2 separate regions of the Homo sapiens genome follow, and region 1 is linked to region 2. Evidence: promoter capture Hi-C in human tissues and cell types (Jung and others, 2019). All regions are on one chromosome and are shown on one strand. Each heading gives the region's core, a stretch centred on a gene start or on the middle of the fragment in contact. The rest is flanking DNA. Distances are from core to core; before and after follow the strand shown.

Region 1 (5,762 bases), core at 231-2,730, 340 kb before region 2:
AGGTAAGTGATCATAGACATTGAACATGACTGAAAATGTTTTCTCCCTCTCTCTTAAATTCATGTATTTATTCAGCCCGCCAAAACATATCATGCCAGGGACCATCCTAGGTATAAAGAAAGAAAAACATAAATAAGACAATCTCTACCCACAAAGAAGTTGAATCAAGAAGAAACATTAAAAGCTGGATGCTGCTTCTTTAGATTATATAAAATTTTATTTTGCAATGACTCTTGGAAAATGCAATATAGAGTTATAGAAAATATATATGCTGTGCATATAAAGAAATGATACATAAATCCAATTGACTTCCTCAGCTTTTTAATAATAGCTTTCATTTATTTAGTGCTCACTATATACCAGATCCTATACTAGGTACTTTAAAATTTTTATTTTCTATAATATTTACAGTAGTTCCATTTTGCATAGGAGGAAAAGAGCTTTATCTCCATTTTACAAATTAAGAAACTGAGCTTAGAAAAGTTATTAGTCATAAGAAATATTAATAGTGTATGGCAAAAAGAGGTTCAGCTCCCAGTGTCTATGGCTCCAGAGTTGGTGGCTCTTGACTTCTCTGCTATCACATCCCTACAACAAATGTGGGGACAACAAACGTGTCCTGTGTCATATACACAAAGTGAGATTAACTTGTTTGTAGAATCTTCTCCTCATGGCGCTTTCTTGCCATGCAGTGTGATCTTGATTGACATTTGTTCCAATGACTGGACAAGGCTGACTCAGGAGTCTGCTGTCATTTGAGCTGATGCAGGGGGTAAGAAGAAGGTGGCGTTTTATAGCCCTTTACATATTCTGTTGAAAATATATATTTACAGGCCTGGTGCGGTGGCTCACACCTGTAATCCCAGCACTTTGGGAGGCTGAGGCGGGCGGATCACAATATCAGGAGATCGAGACCATCCTGGCTAACACGATGAAACCACGTCTCTACTAAAAATACAAAAAATTAGCCGGGCATGGTGGCGGGCGCCAGTAGTCCCAGCTACTTGGGAGGCTGAGCTTGCAGTGAGCCGAGATTGTGGCAGTGCACTCCAGCCTAGGCGACAGAGTGAGACTCCACCTCAAAAAAAAAAAAAAAAGAAAAGAAAAGAAAATATGTCTTTATAATTAGAAGCCTTCCCATTAGACTGATGATTTCTAAAGTATGAGGTTCCTTGTCTTTCTGTTAACAGAGACTACATTATGTCAGACAAGAACAGCCATTCAGTATCTGGTTTGGAATGAATGATGCAATAAGATAGGCAGATACAGTGGACCTCCCCATGACATCTGTGAAGTCCCAGCAAAAATACAAATGGAAACCTTCAGTCCATGGCCTCCCAACTTGCTTTTCTCATTCCTCACTCATTCCTAGATCATAAGGGACCTTGAAACTTGTATGTGGATACTCTAGCCTGTTATGTGCAAGGTCTGTCCACACTATGCAAATAGAATTCCCTTGGCCACTTCTTTGGCCTATGCTATGCCCTCAGGAGGATGGGCCAGGGAACATGCTTATTCCTAGAATAGAGCTTGGGTCCACTTTGGACATAGAACTCTAGAAAGCTGTGTCTCAGATCATAGTCTAGAAAAGGTCTGGGTGAGCCAGGCTTCCCTTGGTCCCTTTGACCTTTAACCCTTTGTGAAGGGACACCATAGGAAAACTAGATCAGAGCCCTTCAAAATTCAGGGTCTAAAGGTGGTACTGGATCTTGCTATGACCTACTTTATAGAATGAGAAAATAGAAACTCAGACACTTCAAGTGCTTCATTCAGGCTCAAAAACTTAGTGAGGAGATCTAGAACATGAACCAGTGACTTCTAGTGTCAAATCCAAGATATCTTCCACTCTACTCGTTGTTCTATTGTATTTGTATAGGGAAAAATGACAATTTTTCCAAAATATTTAAAAGAAATAATTTCTCTCTTAGCATTTCTCTGCATGTAAAGCTGGGTTCTCCCTCTGGATATCACAAAAAGTTCACACCAACTTTATTACCTCGAGCCTCTGACCTCTAACGCAAAGAATGGGACTGATTGAGAGACAGCAAATTTGTAAGGGCTTCTGTCTTCTGTGGAGCAGAAGTGTCAAAAGTGATGCTTGTTGTGTTGAAAAAAAGTTGAAGTTTTGTAAGAGTTGTAACCAGAGATGTCTCCTTATCATAATAGGTCACTCGTTCAAAAAGGTTTTTAATTTGGACAGGATTGTGGGAAATGAGCATTTTCTTTCATTGCAACGACCAAACTGAACACCAAGTAGTTCTTACTATTTGTATCTCTGGGTTCTAGTCAATATTTTACGTAAAGATCAACTTGATATATATATTTCATTTTAAACTTCAATAAGGACATGTTAAAATATGAGGAAGAATTAATACTAGTTTTTCATGTTCCATTATAATTATCTTTGTGATTGAAACCTTCTTTAAATTGAAGAGGAAAATGAAGTTTCTTATGGACACTGCATTTCAGCCTCTAGGCAAAACTTTGACACAATTTAACAACAACAAAAAAGAGGTCTATAAGTTTCCATGCAAGTGAAAAATGGATAATATTTATGTTATTAATCCTATGAGGGAGATGGTATTTCTCATTTTAAATCCTTCTATGTGTATTTATGATGCTTTGGGGAGACAAACATTTACTCTGACATCTGCCTTAAGTACCAGAAACAGAATGAAAGTGTGAGAAGAATAAAGAGGATGCACTAGGCTTATTTTTGGGAAATATGAGCCTAGACCTGTGAACCCAATATATATGTTATATGTTGCTAACCACTATATGATAAAGAAGAAACAAGTCTCCAGGAATGTGTGTGGGCTAGTGCTGAACCTGGACAGGTTTCTGTGCTTCCTACAAATATTCCTGGCTGCGCCATAAATCCCAGCAAGGTGAACTACATTTCTTGGCCACTGTTCATCCTGTTTTCAGCTCATCCTTGAGGTTGGTTGGATGCTCTCACAGAGGATGCTAATCTTTCAGGCTTCTGAGCTCATGCAGTCCTTCTATCCTTTTGAAAGCACAAATCTCACCAGCTGAAATCAGTCATTATTTCCTTAGGGAACCAAATCTAAACACTAGAACTTCTCTCCCAGCCTGTAATTAAATCTGGCGGGCAGGTCACCAGTGCCACTGGGTCAGGAAAGAGAAGAAAAAGGAAGTGAAAGAAATGGCATTTGTTTCTTGGCTGGCCCCAGTGCTTCTCTGAGAGGTAGGCTCTGGCAGCCACACAGTGGAGTCCCTGTGCCCAGAATATTCGTGCCCAGAATTGTTTCGGGTCTGCCAGCTGGCTCCAAAAAGGTTCTTTCCAATCAGGGTCTTGCTTGCTCACTCAGCACTTGAAGCTGAAGCACATTGCTGGTGGTCTGTTGCTGCCCCAAAAGAATTTTCCCTAATTTACCACCTCTGATTATGAAACAGCAGAGCTTATCATACTTTAAAAGGTATCAGAATCGCTCAGAAAGCTTGTTAAATAAAGATTCCTGGAATTTATTCCCAAGACTTTGATTTAGTGGGTCTAGAGTTATGCCTGAAATTTTGAATTTCTTTTTATTCTGATTTATTCATTTATTTTTCTTAATTGACAAATATAAATTGTATATATTTATCATGTACAACATGATGTTTTGAAATATTATAAACATGTATTTCAAATATATGTGGCTAAATCGAGCTAATTAATATATGTATTATAAGTTAATATATACTTTTATATTTTTATATTATATAGGTATTATAGTATTATATGTTAATATATTATATGTAAAATATATGCAGCTAAATCAAGCTAATTAACATATATATTACCTTATATACTTATTTTTTGTGGTATGAGAACACTTAATATCTACTCTCCTGGCAATTTTCAAGAATACAACACATTTTTATTAACTATAGTGACCATGTTGTATCATAGATCTCTTGAACTTATTTCTCCAATATAACTGAAATTTTGTACCCTTTGACAAGCATCTCCTCAACCCACCCTGCCAGCCCCCGGTAAACACAATTCCACCCTCCTCTTCTAATAAGTCAATTCTTTAGATTCCACATATAAGGGAAATCATGCGGTATTTGTCTTTCTGCGCCAGGCTTATTTCACTTACCATAATGTCCTCCAGGTTCATCCATGTTGTCACAAATGACAGGATTTTCTTCTTTTTTATGGTGGAACAGTATTCCATTGTGTATATACACCACATTTCCTTTATCTATTTATCTGTTGATGGACACTTAGATTGATTCTGTATCTTAGCTATTGTGACTAGTGCTGCAATAAACAGAGGAGTGCAAATATCTCTTCAACATATTGATTTCATTTCCTTTGGATGTATAGCCAGAAGTGAGATTCCTGGAACATTACGAAAGCTCTATTTTTAAGTTTTTGAGAAATTTTCAAACTATTTTCCATAATGGCTGTACTGAGAATTTGCACTTCTAACAAAATCCCAGGTCATGCAGATGTTGGTGATCGACAGCCACAAAAGGCTATGGATGATTGATTGTTTTCTTCCTTAGTCGCCCAGATTTTAGTGTCTAATTTTAAAGTTAAACATGGCTATTATGTTAACTTTTACTGTCATCGCATTTGCATTCTTCTTATCCTTACTGCTTATTTTCTATTTCTATTTTTCTTTCTTACTGTATATGATTTTCGTTGAAGAGGGGGAGTGTTTACTAAATTCAATGACTTTTGAAACTAAGTAGGGTTTTCTTATTTATTCTACTAAGTAATTATACTTGAAGCTATCTACATCAAGTTTTATTCTGTTACGGAACAGGTAAGACCCCAGAAAGAGGTACCAGAGGTGATATTTGGATAATATCTACCCAATTGAATAAGAAATGTTGAATTTAATAGATTCATGCCTCCTGCAATAAAGTGGGGTCCAAATGTAATATCTGCCCTCTGACAAAGAACTTCCCTGATTCTGTCTCATCTGTGTTTAGTTTTGGTCTAAATGCCTGAGGTTGCTACCTCACTATGCTGCTAGTTGGGCTTCTGTCTGTTCCATTTGGGCAGGAAGAAAAAGAGAGAAAATGAAAGCGATGTGGTTTGTCTCACCCTGCCTTATCACAAGGTTCTTACCCCCGAGTTTGGGGTGAGGTTCAAGGAAGAATGAGAATATGACTCAGATGCCCCATCAATACATTTTCCCAAATAAAACAAGAGGTGTATGTAGCTAGTCCTGCCTTACTATCAAATATCAAACTTTTCATTCATTTGCAACTATTTTTAGTATATCAGCAAAGTTTCTCTTAGGTTTCAATGTAGTTAAGGCAGGCTATATACTGTGCTAAATACTGATTCTAAAAGTGTTATTTCCCAGCCAGTCTGTCTCTCTCCCAAAGTAAATGTAGTATAATGCAATTGAGTAGAAGCAATGTTGTTGGAAAGGTAATCTTAAATCCTCCATGATTTATGAAAAATTAAAAGTAAGGCCTTTGCAGGCTTGGCATGATGGTTCATGCCTGTAATCCGAGCACTTTGGGAGGCCGAGGCAGGTGGATCATCTGAGGTCAGGAATTTGAGACCAGCCTGGCCAACATGGTGAAACCCCATCTGTACTAAAAATACAAAATTTAGCCAGATGTGGTGGTGGGTGCCTGTAATCCCAGCTACTCGGAAGGCCGAGGCAGGAGAATCGCTTGAACCCGGGAGGTGGAATTTGCAATGAACTGACATCACGCCATTGCACTCCAGCCTGGGTGACAAGAGCAAAAAACTCCGTCTCAATAAATAAATAAATAAATGAAATAAGTCC
Region 2 (5,763 bases), core at 2,925-5,424:
TGTGTGTGTGTGAAAGAAAACGTTACAGTTAACCGTTACAATTGCTCTCACTCCACTCCACCACCTCATCCTGTGTAGTCTGCCTGCGGAACCCGCGGGAATCTCTCCTCAGTGTAGTAAGAGCAAAGGCCAGCATCCTGTGCAAAGGTGCTCTGCAGCGTCGTGATCCAGGGATTTTAGCATCTGTCGTCGCTTGCACATCCTCTCTTACCCCTCTGCTATCTGGTGGAGTTGGGCGAGGGTCTCCAGGGCTTCCAGAGAGTGTCGTTTACGCATGTGACTTGCCATGCGCTCAAACTAAAGCGCCGCCGGGGACTTACTGAAGCCCACCTCGGCCCTCCTCCACTTTGTCCTCAGTCTTCAGGTTTTCCTTTCTGCCGCTAGGGCCTAAGTTGTGGGTTCACCATAACTCCTCAGCAGACATTGGAGTGAACGCATCGACTGCCGTCACCCAAGTGCTAATCACTGCCTTCTCCCACTCAGCGCTGGAGTGGGAGATTCATCCATCGGAAGATTCGTAGCCACCAGGTCCAGTCAAGGATTTCATATGCACTTTCCCTCAGAAAACCCTGAAAAGCAAACGACCCCTGGAATGTCACACACTCCTAAATATCCCTGGAAATCCGCTTCTCTGTGTTTCGCTTCATGGTGAGTGTCGAGGGCCAGATAAGACAAAGAAAAAAATGTATGGAAGGTTATTCCCGGTCGGCTCCTCCTTCCTGTGAGTCTCAGACAGGCTTGCAGGCTTACAGGCTTTCCGCCGCTCCCCGTTGGCAGCCTTCATCGAATTAGGTGGGTGGGGGTGGGAAATTGGGTAAGAAAATAAAGTCGTTGTGGGCGGCTGGGGAACCTGGCGTCAGTCCCCCGTGGCTGTGCGCAGGTACCCTGCAACGTCGCGGTGGCCCCGCTCCTCGGCCAAGTCCACGGGCAGACGACCCCAGGCATCGCGCACGTCCAGCCGCGCCCCGGCCCGGTGCAGCACCACCAGCGTGTCCAGGAAGCCCTCCCGGGCAGCATCATGCACCGGTCGGGTGAGAGTGGCAGGGTCTGCGCAGTTGGGCTCCGCGCCGTGGAGCAGCAGCAGCTCCGCCACGCGGGCGCTGCCCATCATCATGACCTGCCAGAGAGAGCAGAGTGGTCAGAGCCAGGGTGGGGGCAGGTATGGGAGATGCCGGCCGGGGCAAGGCAGGTGGAGCCATTTAAAGAAACACCTAATTGCAAAGTTTTCACCCAGTGCAGAGGTGTTCAGGTCTCTGATGTCTGGTGTTTCTTCATTTGCTGATGCAATCCACTTTCCCACCCCACCTTCAGGTTATACTCAGTACAAATTAAATGCCATTTTATTCTCTAAACGTGCAGAGACAAGAAAGTTGATGGTAAAGTGATGATCATCATTATGGAAAAACAAATCTTGATTTCCATTGGAACATGGGAATCTATTTTGTTAAATGATTTAGGGGCAGAGTTAAATTTATTCGGCTTTTAAAGTTTTAAATTATTTGCCTTGCTGACCCCTCCTCCATAATCCAGGTCTACAAATATTTATTAGGTAGTCAACTACTGTTTGTTAGAAGTTGGGAGTAATGGTTTAGGGGAGAAAATAAACAACTAAGTTTTTTTCTTTCTTTTTTTTTTAATTTATTTAGTTCTCATAGCAAATCCCGTGCGGAAGGCTTTTGTTTGTCATGTGTCTGAGCTCATAACTGGCTTGTAGTGTGATAATTTGAGCCAAAGTTGGAGATTAGAAGGGAAAAGTAAATTAAATCATGCAAAATCTTATAAAATTATAATAAATGATTTTTCCTTAACAGTTCATCATTTTAAATTTAGACTATAATATTTTTAATGTAATATAAAACTAACTATATTTGTATACTACAGGATTTTATAATAGCTAAGATTTAAAAATGTTAAACAGTAAATATTTTGCTATATAAAAAGAGCTTGGGCCAGGCCCAGTGGCTTATGCCTGTAATCCCAGCACTTTGGGAGGCCATAGCAGGCAGATCACCTGAGGTCAGGAGTTCGAGACCAGCCTGGCCAACATGGTGAAATCCCGTCTCTACTACAAAAAATAAAAAATTAGCTGGGCATGGTGGGGCGTGCCTGTAGTCCCAGCAACTCAGGAGGCTGAGGCAGGAGAATCGCTTGCATCCTGGAAGAGGTTGCAGTGAGCTGAGATTGTGCCACTGCACTCCAGCCTGTCCGACAGAGTGAGGCCTCATCTCAAAAAAAATAAAATAAATAAATAAATAAATAGAGCTTGGATGTTAGCAGTCAATCAGGATGATGCATAACTTAGAAAAAATGATGTTTTGCAGGAGTAATCCTGTAGCAGCCATTTGTGTACATGAACATTATGAAAACATTTGCTGTCATATTTAAAGTCAATTATAAGACAATTTTTGGTAACTAAATGTCTAAAATCGAGTTATTTGTTATGGGTTTATGCACTTTAAAATATACCATTTAATTGAAAGGCAGTATACTTCTCATGTTTTGTTGGCTTGTTTCATTAATATTAGAAATGTTCATTTCATCTCTTAAAAACCGTGATAAGTTATATCTACTAGTGATGTAAGGATATTTTACATAGAAAAAAAGGGGAAAATAGCTGCTGTTAGTATTTCAGAAAATGGTGAATTACATATATAACTTGTTTTTATAATTATTAATAAAATTTTAAGTTTTTAAGATGCACTTTACAATATTTTTGCTCCTTTAAAAATCCCTCATTTGTTATACCATTATTCTAAGAATTCAAAAGAAATGAACACTTCTTTAAAATCTATACTATTAACAAGATCCCTTAATATTAGCTTAGTTTTAGAGGGTGATAGTGAGGTGAGTACTGAATATGACCACTAGCCAACGGTAAAGTACAAAAGAGTTGTCCGAGATTGTAAAAGAAATAAAAAATATCAGTACTAATTAAAGCAGGATTCGTACTTAAACATTGAATAAGTGTATTTTAACAATGAAGATAAAGATGCATTATTTATGAAGATCCTTTGCCATTCAAAAAGGACCTAACAGTTGCTGCAGGAATATTTTTGTAATCTGGGCACTGAGTATGATAATTAAAGAATGAGAAACCTATAGAACTATATATTTTTTCTCTTATGCATCACTCATAAGACACTGCTAACATAAAAGGAACTAAGTACTGTGGTTGAGGAATCCCGTCTCATTCTCAATTAACCTCTATGAGAAAACAATACAACAGATTTCATATAGTAGCTTAGAAGTTTACATTGATTTTTTCCATGTACTATGATTTTGTAGAATTCCTTAAATCCAATCTAGAATGCGTAACTTATACTTTACTTATCTTTATCGTTGAAAGCAGACAGACAAGATAATCTTCTTCCCTAAATAAGCTTTCCTTTTCTCCTTTTCTCCCCAATTCAGTCTATTCCTTGCATCTCTGATCATGAGATGGCAGAACAAAAACCACTAAAAAAAGCTTAAACAGTGGGTTTTTCAATGTCTCTCTTTAGGATTTTTGCTGGGTAAAAGCCTGTTTTACGCGTGGAATGCACACCTCCGGCCAACGGAGACTCCTGTACAAATCTACATCGGCGATCTAGGTTCCAGCCCCGATCCGCCGAGGCCGCGCCCCGCGTTCGCGCGCCCCCTGCCGGCGAGGCCCTGGGGCCCCAGCTACCTGGATCGCGCGCCTCCCGAAACGGTTGACTCCGTTGGGATCCGCGCCGGCTTCCAGGAGCTGTCGCACCTTCTCCACTAGTCCCCGCGCCGCGGCGCTGGCCAGACCCTCATCGCTGCCGCCCCCACTGGGCATGCCCTTGTTCTCCTCGCGCATTCCGCAGCCCCCAGACGCGCAGCGGCCCGGATAATCCACCGTTGGCCGTAAACTTAACGACACTCTTCCCTTCTTTCCCACGCTGCTCCGGCGCACTCTCTCCTTCCTAGGAGACCTGGGCTCAGCTTCATTACCCTCCCGTCGTCCTTCTGCGGCTTGGGGCCCCGTGCAGTGGCCGAGCGGCCGGTCGTTAGCTCCGGGCTTTTCCTGGCGCTCAAGAACCAGCGGGCGCGCCTGGATTGCTTCTGGGAAAAAGCGCCTAGCGCGGACGCAGCCGAGCTCAAAGCCGCTCTGGCCGCAGGGTGCGGACGCGTCGCGGAGTCCTCACTGCCCCGCCTCGCTCTGGCAGAGTGGGGAGCCAGCCGGCAAAGAATTCCGTTTTCAGCTGGGCCAAGGGGCCGGCGTCTCCCCACCCCCTTAGGCTCCGCCCCCTGTCCGCTGTGATCGCCGGGAGGCCAGGCCCGGGCCGACGCGTCACGAGGGCGGGGAAGCCTGCCCAAAGATGCTAGGACGCATGCGCCAGAGACTGGGCCAGGGAGCCGCCAGGAATGCTGGCTGCACTGCTCGCTGGATGTCCAGTAAAGCCAAGGCTAATATTTTGGGAATGTTCACCACTGCCCTCAGCTCCTAATCCCCAGTAGGCGGAGCAGAGGATTTCTGTTCCTTCAGCCAGCCAGTTGGTTTCACTGTGGAGACGTTGGTGGCTCCCTTGTGACCGAGAGAAAGTCATTCAAAATAACTCCGTGTTTCTTAAGATGTCTGAAAGCGACAGCTCTGCACCTGTCATACAAGTTAAATTCATCCCCAGGCAGTACTTGGGCTTCACAAGTTTCATAACTTGTATCAAACTTAGCAATTTTCTCTTGGATGTGTCTTTCTGTTTGAATTAGTCAACCATAAAAATAGAGAAAAATCCCGAGAATCATGTTTTGCGTGTGCTTTTTAATTCTTTCCATTTTTGCATTATGGATACAACCCTTAAAAGAGAAAAAAACTAGTTCGAGATTGAGAGTGGCAACCTGGCACACATAAGACAAAAAAAAATTATACTTTAAGAATCTGAGATCCCAGTTTCATCATATTTGTACAGTAAATCTTTGTTTGCACTCTTACCTATTTAAACCCACTTTGTCAGGTATCTTATTTTTATTTATCATGAGTAATAAAGGAAATTTATGCAGTAATAATGAAACATCATAAGAGAGGGGTGTGGTGCTGGGCTTGTCATTAAACAGGCTGAACCTGTCATTAAATTCTCTTCTGAAGATTTAAATGCCAAGTGCTTTTTTTCCCCTTCCTAATCTTCCTAGGTGAGTTTGAATCAACATTTATTACTTAAAATATTTAAAACATTTCAGCGGATGCTACATTGGATAGGAAGAGAACCGCAAGTTATGGATTTGTTGCCTAAAAACTTTGGTGAGGAACTGCATAAGTGGACCTCTCCTAAAAGTGAACAATTTTTGTTTACAGAATCATTTTGGTTCGGAGTGCTGAGGAAGACAAAGTCTTAACAGGAGGGCAATTGCTTGTGTATTGCAAAATGAGAGTCTTCACATGTTTTTTTTAGGATACCTTAGCTCTGACTCCTCATCCCCCAAATCCCTGTAGAATTAAAAAAAGCTCTTTCTTTTAAAGGCAGTGGAAGTGCCACCACCATGGAAGTGCTGGTTAGGGCTGAAAATCTACTGACAGAGCCTCAACAGAGCTGAAATCCACCTGGACAGGGAAGGGAACCGGGTAGCATTAATAACAATTTCTTTTTCTTTCCCATCCAACCCCCATTTCCTAGTCTTCAGTTTCTTAATTTCTCTACCTTTTACTCTTATGCTCTTGTTTTGACCTTTGAGTTTCTCTGAAACTTATCAGAAAAGTTAGGACAAGATAGTCTGACCCAATTCTTGAGCCATTTTCTTAGGTAGTAAATATGTCAGAAAAAT

The links. Contacts are between HindIII fragments. The study calls those that stand out against the background at their distance.
Region 1: a contact is called between a fragment that was not itself captured here and the fragment with the promoter of CDKN2B in region 2, in 1 of the 25 tissues and cell types used here (dorsolateral prefrontal cortex).

The regions. Positions count from the first base shown.
Region 1 is chr9:21,665,528-21,671,289 of GRCh38, forward strand. No RefSeq gene overlaps it. Among named protein-coding and RNA genes, the nearest start is that of MIR31HG, 110 kb to the left of the region's middle. The HindIII fragment of the contact is 6,599 bases long and covers 1-4,780 here.
Region 2 is chr9:22,005,131-22,010,893 of GRCh38, forward strand. It overlaps CDKN2B (cyclin dependent kinase inhibitor 2B), which reads right to left and starts at 4,175. Exons shown (of 2, transcript NM_004936.4): 1 at 3,668-4,175; 2 at 1-1,117. The coding sequence starts at 3,823. The coding sequence ends at 857. The region is part of intron 1 of CDKN2B-AS1 (CDKN2B and CDKN2A antisense cis and trans regulatory RNA 1); the gene reads left to right. RefSeq lists a silencer at 3,517-3,716. The HindIII fragment of the contact is 12,658 bases long and covers 1-5,763 here.